Linked DNA regions of Homo sapiens: region 1 is linked to region 2. Evidence: promoter capture Hi-C in human tissues and cell types (Jung and others, 2019). All regions are on one chromosome and are shown on one strand. Each heading gives the region's core, a stretch centred on a gene start or on the middle of the fragment in contact. The rest is flanking DNA. Distances are from core to core; before and after follow the strand shown.

The links. The method cuts DNA at HindIII sites, captures the fragments that hold promoters and counts their contacts. A contact is called where the count stands out against the background at its distance.
Region 1: a contact is called between a fragment that was not itself captured here and the fragment with the promoter of RILPL1 in region 2, in 1 of the 25 tissues and cell types used here (spleen).

What each region holds. Positions count from the first base shown.
Region 1 is chr12:122,519,889-122,525,491 of GRCh38, forward strand. RSRC2 (arginine and serine rich coiled-coil 2) reads right to left here. Exons shown (of 10, transcript NM_023012.6): 2 at 2,255-2,411; 3 at 1,497-1,540. Among named protein-coding and RNA genes, the nearest start is that of RSRC2, 4.2 kb to the right of the region's middle. The HindIII fragment of the contact is 5,664 bases long and covers 315-5,603 here.
Region 2 is chr12:123,531,889-123,537,120 of GRCh38, forward strand. It overlaps RILPL1 (Rab interacting lysosomal protein like 1), which reads right to left and starts at 1,831. Exons shown (of 7, transcript NM_178314.5): 1 at 1,286-1,831. The coding sequence starts at 1,594. MIR3908 (microRNA 3908) reads left to right here and starts at 4,521; the gene lies at 4,521-4,646. RefSeq lists an enhancer at 832-1,649 and silencers at 1,865-2,554, 2,574-2,759. The HindIII fragment of the contact is 25,082 bases long and covers 1-5,232 here.

The DNA.
Region 1 (5,603 bases), core at 1,897-4,396, 1.0 Mb before region 2:
TGTCAAATTCATCTTGTAGTGAAAGTTTAAAATCCTAGACATCTCTGAATCACTAAATTTTAATTCTGGAAGGAAACTAAGATCCTCTAACTTAATCCCCTTATTTTATGTATAACTAAGATCTAAAGTTACAAAGCTACATGGGTGAGCTGAACCTTCCCCATGTTTTTCTGATGCCCACGCTACCACTTTTCCACTGTAATAAGACACTACTGTCTCCCAAAAGGCCATAGCATGTTTCTTTCCACTCACGATTAATGTTTCTTAAAAATAAAACTTGGCCAATCATTTTGGAACATGCATGATGATTTATCTGAAAATGATCATAGTACATAATTTATTATTTGCAGAAAAATAAGAGACCTGGAGACACAATTAAATTTTAGTTTCATTGCCAGTTCTCTATAGGAGCTTAGAAAAGAAATTTTCCTTGGTTTTGCTATAACGAGGCAGACTGGAAAAGTCTTAAGTGGTTAAACTTCTAAAGGTTTTAAAGTTTATTTCAAACCAGTTTTTCAAACATAACATTACTATTAATTTAAAAAAAACATTAAAACCCTTAACTGATTTAAGATATATTTAAGGGAAATAGGAGTTTGAATGACTAATAGTTACCTTATCATGAAGTAGGCTTATTATTTTGCTATCTGAGTCTGCAGCGTCTTCAGTTCAGTCTCTTCGCGCATAAGCACGCTGAGTATGATTTATTATAGAAATGTTATCATGTGAGCTAAACAAAATAGTCATTTTCACAAAAACTCTCCTAAATTAAAAATTTAACAGAGCTTCCATTACGGGAAGAGGTGAAGTCCCTGCCCACTCTTGTTTTAGGAGTCCCTTACCCAGCCCCCACAAGACTCTTCTCCCTTTCTGGCTACTACTTCTACACTTCCTTATTGGCTCATTCTTTGTCTTCTCAGGTGGGTGAACAAGTAACTCCTTTGCAATACAGCTGCTGCCTTTCTTTTTCCTCAAGTTTTGGTGTCACCGCCACCTTTTCAGCTGTCCCTCACTCAAACCTTTATTTCAAAATTCAATACTACTATTAGGGAAACTGAACTAGTTTGCAAAAGAAAAGAGAACTCCTGTTATCGTTCATAAGGAAAAAGCAGCGCACAGATATCTAGGGTATTGCTATGTAAAGATGATTGCTGTTTAAAAATCCTGAGCAACTGTCAGGCACCAGGAGACTCGGGACCTCAGATTAATGGAAGCTCTGTGTGACAGGCCTAAAAAAACCAATCATATTCTTCATATGAAATTTTTATTGTGAATATTTTCACAATATAATAAAATTAAAGTTTTGAAGGTACTTTTCACATAAACATCTTCTTCAAAAATGATGAATCAAAATCATGCTTATTTTATAACCCAATAAACCTTTTAAATTTCAAGTTTTGTACTTACCTTGACAACGTCTTATATTCATACAAATCTTTCTACCAGACACTTTATAAGTATTTTAAAGTACCTATTCACTACAAAGTGTTAATTACCTCTTTGCTTCTGCTCCGGCTCCTGTGTTTTCTTCCTTCATTATCTGTGAATACACAAAAAAAATAATCACCATAAACAAAGTTGGAGAAACATTTCATCTTAAAAAACTCTTAATGCTGGAGAAAAATGACTCCCATTAGTCTTCTTCCAATGACTAATTTTTTCATGGCACGGGTGGGATTATTCTACATTAATACAACACACATGTGAAACAAATCAAGCAATCTGAGCAAACCAGGACATAAAGCAGCCTAGATACATCTTTTAAACGGTCATAGACTTTCAGTATTTTACATATATTCTGACCAGCCCATCTAGTTTCCTAGTCTACAGCAAATTCATAAGGGGGTTTAATAGAGAGAGGTAAGCCATTAAGAAAAATAAAAACTAAAGAAAATAAACAGGTTGAATTATATTTGATATGTTCCAACATGGTGAAACCCAGTCTCTACTAAAAATACAAAAATAAGCTAGGCGTGGTGGCGCACGCCTATAATCCCAGCTACTCAGGAGGCTGAGGCAGAAGAACTGCCTGAACCCAGCAGATGGAGGTTGCATTGGGCTGAGAGTGTGTCAATTTTTGTATTTTTGGTCCTGGCTCAGGTGATCTGCCTGCCTTGGCCTCCCAAAGTGCTGGCATTACAGGCTTGAGCCACCATGCCCAGCCAACAAACTAAATGTATGTGTCTTCTTATACAACAGGTCTACATATCTTATACAAATGCTGAGAGTTGTAACCACCTTTAAGAATTCATACCTGACTTTCGTTTTCTTTCTCTTGACCTTGATCGTGATCTTGAATAATGATGTTTTGAAGCTCTAGGAGAAACAGATACTTCTGACTGCTCTTTTTTCTTATCTCTATCTGGTGATGTCTTTTCTGGGGCTAGTCCATCTCGCTCTGTATCACTAGCCTAAAAGTTTAAAAACAAATGATTAAAGTTCTTAATTACATTTTAAATGTTTTCAATTTCTTAAAAGAGGGACAAAGGGAGGGAAGATAGCCCCCCACAATCAATAAATCAGAATGCCTGCTTTCCAAGTAACTAAATGTGCTTTGTACACTAATAAGGCTGAATGGCTTGAAATGACGAACCTGATACTAAAGCAAGACCTACATATTTAGACTGATGTATCTTTAATTTTCTAACGATGATTTGTATAACTTTTAAAACATGGGGTGGGGTGGGGGAGGAATAAGGGCTCCAAGTAGTTCTAATAAGCATTCAAGCAGAGAAAATAGTCCTTTTTAGATGTGTGAATGCATTTAGCTGACTTTACCAATACTTTTAAATTAGCATACATGTCAAACATCAAAAATGAGTTGTTAAAGCTTAAAGATACTCAAGACGATAAAATCTTAAAACAATGCCCTAAGAATATTATAAAATAATAAACAGAAAATTAACTTACCTAAGTGAGAACCTCATCTTAATGTCATTAACCCTCTTTAATGAAAACAGCCCCTTGGCACAGTGCTGCTGCAAAATATGGTCTGCCTCTCCTCACATGTGCTCTGGGCTATGAAAACATTAAGTTGTTTCTGCTTTAAAGCATTTTATAAGTAATTATTACAATATAAATTTTACAAGTTTCAACTAATGCAGAAGGTAGACAATGCTCGGCTATCTGACCAGAGAAGATAACATGAAAATAAAATAATTGATACACCTGGGGAATTGATTACTTAGGAAGGGTTGGCAAGCTATGGTCCTCATTCTGTTTCTGTATGGCCTTGAGCTAGGAATGGTTTTTTACGTTTTTTAAAACTATTTTAGGCATATTTAATAAATAACTTCAGTAAATAGCACTGTAAAGACTGAACTGTTAAAACTAAAGGCACTTAAAACGCCAGTGTTGTGGCTCATGCCTGTAATCCTAGCACTTTGGGAGGTTGAGGCAGGCGGATAACCTGAGGTCAGGAGTTTGAGACCAGCCTAGCCAACATGGTAAAACCCTGCTTCTACTAAAAACACAAAAATTAGCCAAGAGTGGTGGGGCGTGCCTGTAATCCCAGCAACTCAGGAGGTTGAGACAGGAGAATGGCTTGAACCCATGAGGCAGACGTTGAAGTGAGCTAAGATTGCGCCACTGCCCCTCCAGCCTGGGAAAGAATGTGACAGAGACTGCACATGGCCCACAAAGCCAAAAATATTTACCGTCTGGCCCTTTACAGAAACAGTTTATGGACTTTTCACGTATAACATCAAACGGAATCTGGATTGAATAAATAGGGAATCGATAGTCTTCAGCAGGAGGAATCACATTAGAGAACTTCCTCCTTTAGGAAAGTTAGTCCAGAAAATGAATACCAAATATCAAGTACAATAAATGGGGGTATTGTATTTTAACAAATTTTAAACAAGTATCAAGTACAATAAATGGGTGTATTGTACTTTAATAAATGAAGTTGTGAGAGGTCGAGTTACTTCAACAAGTATTTACTAAGGGTCAAAAATGTGCCAAAACCAATGCTAGACTTAGGGAATAAAATGATAAATTAAAAACAGAAAGGTTTTGCAGTTCAATTATGAGATGAAAGACATAAATTACGTGTTATTCCTCTAACAATGGCACAAAAAGAACAGTAAGAAATTAACTACCAGGGAGGCTCTCATGCCAGCATATTGTATATGTACTTATTTCTCCAGTCTGGGTGACTTCTGGAACCATAAAATTTTTATGCTGAAAGGTTTTCACCCCTTAGAATAGAGTTCAACTTTCTCGTTTCACAGATGAGATCCAGCAACATTAGCTGACTTGCTTAAAATGATACTGCATCTCCGTATCTTTACTGTTTACTACTAATAAATAATGCTGTATCATTAAGGATGATTCTGATTTTTCACAATGAATTCTGGACACTTTTTTTTTTCATCGTTATCCTTGAGGACTATTTCAGACTCATTTATTACTTGCTGAGTGTTTGTACAGCTTACACTTGGTAAACAGAAGTGATCTCGAAAATTTTAAGCACCGCTATTACTTCTCTCAGTTGCACGACACTTTTGCCAGAGACAGAATTCCTTAACTAGTGGCAAATCCCATTTACTTTTGCAGAGAACAAGACTAGAATCGAAAACAACCTTCTCATGGAAAATCTAGTGCTTAGCCTAGGCAGTTTTCAGGCAATGGTTTATCTAACTTTAACTTCATGCTTAACATCACAAAGCTGGACAACAGAGAAACCTCCCTGTGACATAGGCTAACTTAAACTTACATCATCAACCATTTTCATCTGTAAAATATACTACAGAGCAACAACAAAAACCATCTTAACACTAAACAAATAGGAATGATAGGTGGTCATTGAGGCCATGGAAAACTTTTATTTCCCTGAGGATATTTTATAGTAGCATAATACAGGTATCCAGGAAAAAAACCTACCAAAAACTGAGTATTAAAATTGCTCTGAAATTTTCTAAGCTTTAATTTAGTACTAATCTATGTGTACACATAAACGTTAACTGCAAAACAGCCTTCTATTCCAGCAGTGGCTCTACGAGGTAGCCACTTTGGTTTCTTATAATTTACATTTTGTTGCAAACTCTAATAACGGCTCGAAACATAGACAAATCTTTTTCCACTGCGAAGGAGGTAAGCACTGGATTGAATACTAGGTCACTTCTCTAGGGGACTGTCTTTTTATTGAACAAGGCACGGCATAAATAAATGTTTAAATTCACTTTTTAAAATACTAGAACCCGGCCGGGCGCGGTGGCTCACTCCTGTAATCCCAGCACTTTGGGAGGCCGAGGCGGGTGGATCATCTGAGGTCAGGAGTTCGAGACCAGCCTGGCCGACGTGGTGAAACCCCGTCTCTACCAAAAATATAAAAAAATTAGCCGGGTGTGGTGGTGGGCGCCTGTAATCCCAGCTACTCGGGAGTCTGAGGCAGGAGAATCGCTTGAACCCGGGAGGCGGAGGTTGCAGTGAGCCAAGATCGCGCCATCGCACTCCAGCCTGGGCGACAAGAGCAAAACTCCGTCTCGAAAAAATACAAAAAAACCTGCAACCCAAGAAAAATAGTATTACTCTTTAAGTATACTGAGGCCCAAAACACTAAACAAAGGAAGACAGTAAAAGAAACGGGTTTAAACTCAATC
Region 2 (5,232 bases), core at 581-3,080:
AAGCATTTTCAGGCTCCCAGAGTGACCTCGGAAATGCTGCTCAACTCTTGGGAGCCTGAGTTTCCTTCCTGCCCCTAGGGCATAGGGACCCATGAGGACGAGCACAGTCAAACATGGCAATGGTGCTGTTACCTACCTGTGGGTCTGCCCTCAGGTAAAGGGTTCAGACCCAGCTTTGGCTATTTTACTCCAAAACACAGAGATCCATCAAAGTACACAATAAGGGATGGCCTGCCCCTGAGGTTCAGAGAGGCCATCTGTATTTCCTGAGGCTGAACAGCAAGCTGGAGACTGCTCAGGCACCCTGATCCCTCAAGGAAAGGTGTTTCCTCCCATTCTCAGTCTGAAGGGGCTGCCAAGAGCATCCCTGGCTGAGGTTAGGGCAGGAAACCACATGTCTTTCACTTCCTTTTCTCCAGAAACCTCGTCTGAACTCCAGGCCCAGTGGGGAGGCCCTGATTCAGAGAGACTCCTGATCACAGGGCAGAGGCTTAGCCTTAAAGCCACCCCAAATCATCCCTTTCCCCCAATTCAAACAGGGTGGGGAGGAGACACGGGGGCTGGGACTCTCTCACCACTAATTTGGGACAAATTGCTCCTCCCACTGTGACCCTCGGTTTCTTTATCTGTAAAATGAAGATAGTCTCTATAGAGTCCTGTGAGGATTAAGGATAAAATCAGAGGAGAGAACACGGGCTACCACAGGTTCATAAGCTAGGGGAGTCCCGGGAAGAAAGTTGCAAATATGAACCCGAAGACTAGGGGTCACGAAGCTCAGTGGCTGGAGGTCACATTCCCTTTGCTCTGGGGAGACTGGGGGGGGGGGGGATGAAGAAAGGGTCCTGGGCCTGATGTCACATCTTCTTGGTAACTCGGGAGGCCAAGAGGCTTATTTCATGTCTGGAAGAGAATAATATGTCTAAGCACTTAGCTTATATGGTCCCATTTAATTCTTCTAAGGTGGGTCCTATTATGATTACCATTTGACAGGTGAGGAAATAAAGCACAGAGAGGTTAAGTAACTTACCTAAAGTCACACAGCTATTAAACGGTAAAGGTGGGATTGGAACTCCAGAGAACAGCTCTTAATCTCTCGGGTGGTATCTGCCAGCCACCCCTGGTCGGGCAAAAGAAGGCCAGGGCCTCCCTCCCTCCCCACGTCGGGTCTCCTCTGGTCCGGTCCCTGAACACACACACGTGCGCACCCACAGCTGCCCAATGCGGAAGAGCCCTTGGGTCCCCGCGGTCCCACTGCCCGGACGGACAGACCGAGGCCGCCGCCCACCTTCTGGTGCTTGCGCTCCTTCTCGATGCGGTCCATCCTCTCCAGGCGCAGGCGGTCCAGCTCCAGGCGCAGCTCGTCCAGCTCGGGCGCGACGTGGTGGCGGCTGACCAGCACCTCCAGGATCTCCAGGACGCGCACGACCTTGGGCATGAGGCGCGCGATGGCCTCGCAGCCGTGCTGGTCAATGACCCGCTCGAACTCGTGGCCCACAAGCGACGCGATGTCGTACACGTCCATGACGGTCAGCTCGGCCACGTTCTTCTCCAGCGCCGACTCGGCCGCCAGCGCCGACCCCCGCTCCTCCTCCATGGCCACCCTCCTGGCCTGTCCCCCGCCCCGCAAACTCGTGCAACTCCCAAACTTGCCGCTGTCGAGGGCCGGGCCGGCCGGGCCCAGCCTGGGCCGCGGGCGGGCGCGCTCAGCGGGCGCTGGGGCGAGGGCGCAGCGGGCAGCGGGCGGCGGGCGCGGGCGCGGGCACGGGCGGCGGCGCGGGGTGTGCGGGCCCGGGGTCTGGGCGCCCGGCTCGGCCCGGAGCTGCTCCCGAGTGGGCGGCGGCGGCGGCGGCGGCGGCGGCGGCAGCGGGGAGGGCGCGCGCGTGCGCAGGCCCGCGGCGCCTCCCAAGTTGGGATCCGAGTTGCGCTCAATGGAGCCGGGCCGGGCGCCTCGGGGCGGTGCGGGCCTGAGGGGCGGCAGAGCGCGGGGCCGGAGAGGAAGGGCGGCCCGCGGCTCCTCCGGGAAACTTTGGCGGCGGCGGCTGCGAGGCCGGGTGATCGCTTCCCCACAGGGAGGCCGCGCGCCCCGCCCCAATCCCGGCCTGGCCAGGGGCGCGCCCGCTTTCCGCCGCCCGGGGGCGCCCCGGGGTACCCCCCCAAGCGCCGACTCCGCGGCCTGCACTCCGGGCCCCCCTCTCCAGCCGCCGGACCCGCGGCGCCCCTCACCCGTGCCCCGGCCGCCCCTCCCCCGCCCGGCGCTGACTCCTCCCACCACCCGGCCGCCGGGAGGGGTCCAGGCCGCCCCGGGAGAGGGGGCCGGGGGCGCTGGTCTCGCGGGACGATTCGCTGCTCCGGGTAGCGGCCCCGGCCTTGGAGAGGGATGGAGGGGTCACGAGGAGGTCCCCGGGCTGGGGCTCATCCCAGGAAGAGAACGGGGACCCCCCCCGGCCCGCAGACACTCCGCGCAGACCCGGCCACCAGGCGGACTTGCAGAGGCGCCCGGAGAGGGGCCGACGTGTCGAGGAATGCTGGATCCCCGGAGCCCCAGGGCGCGCCTCCCCGAGCCACATCCATCACTGGCTCCTTGTGACATGAACGCCACTTCACAGTAGAGCGAAGCCCGCTTGGCATTCCAGCACCACGAGTTCTCTTGTCCCAAGGCCCCCTGTCCATTTGGGCTGGCCAAATCCACTTGTCCATCAGACCCCCTCCCACTCCCGGGAGAACGTTTCCTGAACCCAGAACCCCATCCACCCTCCCCGCCCCCCACGCAGGAGTTAAGGACCCCCTTGCAAACTCACAGTCCCCTGCTTGCCCCATCAGGATTGCTCTTAGCATCCTGAGTTTTCACCGTGTGGTTGCAGGTAGGTTTCCACCGTCAGATCTTGGCTCCTTGAGGGAAGAAATCTTAATGCCCTTGTAGCCATAAAGCGCACCCCAACGTGGCACGTATTGATTAAAAATCTAAAAGTTGGCCGGGCGCGGTGGCTCACGCCTGTAATCCCAGCACTTTGGGAGACTGAGGTGGACGAGGTCAGGAGTTCAAGACCAGCCTAGCCAAGGTGGTGAAACCCCGTCTCTACTAAAAATACAAAAATTAGCCGGGCATGGTGGCGCATGCCTGTAATCCCAGCTACTCAGGAGGCTGAGGCAGAGAGTTGCTTAAACCCGGGAGGCGGAGGTTGCAGCAAGCCGAAATCGCGCCACTGCACTGCAGGCTGGGTGACAGAGCAAGACTCCATCTCAAAATAATAATATAATACAATAAATAAATAAATAAATAGTAAAAAAAAAAAAATTAAGGCCAGGCGGGGTGGCTCACGCCTGTAATCCCAGCACTTTGGGAGGCCGAGGTGGGAAAATTTCTAGAGCTCAGGAGTTCGAGACCAGCCTGGCCAACATGGTGAAACCACGCCTCTACTAAAAATACAAAAATTAGCCAGACATGGTGGCATGTGCCTGTAATCCCAGCTACTCAAGAGGCTGAGGCGCGAGAATCATTTGAGCCTGGGAGGCAGAGGTTGCAGTGAGCCAAGATCGTGCCACTGCACTCCAGCTTGGGCAACAAGAGCGAAACTCCGTCTCAAAAAAAAAAAAGAAAAAAAAAAAAGTAAAATAAAAAAATTAGCCAGACGTGGTGGTGAGAGCCTGTAGTCCCAGGTATTTGGGAGGCTGAGGTGGGAAGATCCCTTGAGCCTGGGAGGCAGAGGTTGCAGTGAGTTGAGATCACACCACTATGCTCCAAACTGGGCGACAGAGCGAAACTCTGTCTCAGAAAAATAAAAAATAAAAATAAATACTCCTGGCCACAGTGGCTCATGCTTGTAATCCTAGCACTTTGGGAGGCCAGGGCTGGAGGATCACTTGAGCCCAAGATTTCGAGACCAGCCTGGGCAGCATGGCAAAACCCCGTCTCTATTTAAAAAAAAGTCTGGTTGCAGTGACTTATGCCTGTAATCCCAGCACTTTGGGAGGCCAAGGGGGGCAGATCAGTTGAGGTCAGGAGTTCAAGATCAGCCTGGCCAACATGGTGAAACCTCATCTCTACTAAAAATACAAAAAAAAAAAAAAATTAGCCAGGCGTGGTGGCAGGCGCCTGTAATCCCAGCTACTCAGGAGGCTGAGGCAGGAGGATCACTTGAACCCGGGAGGCAGAGGTTGCAGTGAGCTGAGATCGAGATCGTGCCACTGCACTCCAGCCTGGGTGACAAAGCGAGACTCTGTCTCAAAATAAATAAATAAATAAATTAATTAATTAATTAAATAAAAATTACCCGACTCTGGTGGCAAGTGCCTGTAGTCCCAGCTACTCGGGAGACTGAGGTGGAAGGATGACTTGAGTCCCAGGGAGCAGAGGTTGCAGTGAGCTGTGATTACACCACTGCACTCCAACCTGGGTGACATAGGGAGACCCTGTCTCAAAAACAACAAAAAAACTCATACGTTATCTAGCACGGTGGCGTGAGCCTGTAGTTCCAGCTACTCCAGTGGGAGGATCCCTTGAGTTCAAGAGTTCTAGTCTAGCCTGAGCAATGTAGGTAGACTGTTTCTAAAAAAATAAAAAGTTAAAAAAATTTATGTTAACGTGTAATGTGTTTACTAATTTTTTTTTTTTTTTTTGGAGACAGAGTCTCCCTCTGTCGCCAGGCTAGAGTGCAGTGGCTCGATCTCAGCTCGCTGCAGCTTCGACCTCCCAGGTTCAAGCAATTTCCCTGCCTCAGCCCCCAAGTAGCTAGGATTACAGGCGCATGCCACCATGCCTGGCCGATTTTTTTGTATTTTTAGTAGAGAGGGGGTTTCACCATGTTAGCCAGACTGATCTCGAACTCCTGACCTCAGGCAATCTGCCTGCCTCAGCCTCCCAAAGTGCTGGGATTACAGGCATAAGCCATCCTCCCGGACTATTTTTTAATTAATATTTTTTAAAGCATCAGTTTAAATTTCTTTTCTTTTCTTTTCTTTTTCTTCTTCTTCCCTTCCCTCCCCTCCCCTCCCCTTTCTTTCTTCCTTTCCTTTCCTTTCCTTTCTCTTTCTTTCTTTCTTTCTTTCTTTCTTTCTTTCTTTCTTTCCTTTCTCTCTCTTTCTCTCTCCCTCCCTCCCTCCCTCCCTCCCTCCCTCCCTCCCTCTCTCTCTCTTTCTTTCTTTCTTTCTTTTCAGGGTCTAGTTCTGTTGCCCAAGGTAGTGCAGTGGTGCGATCGTAGCTCACTGCAGCCTCAAACTCCTGGGCTCAAGCGG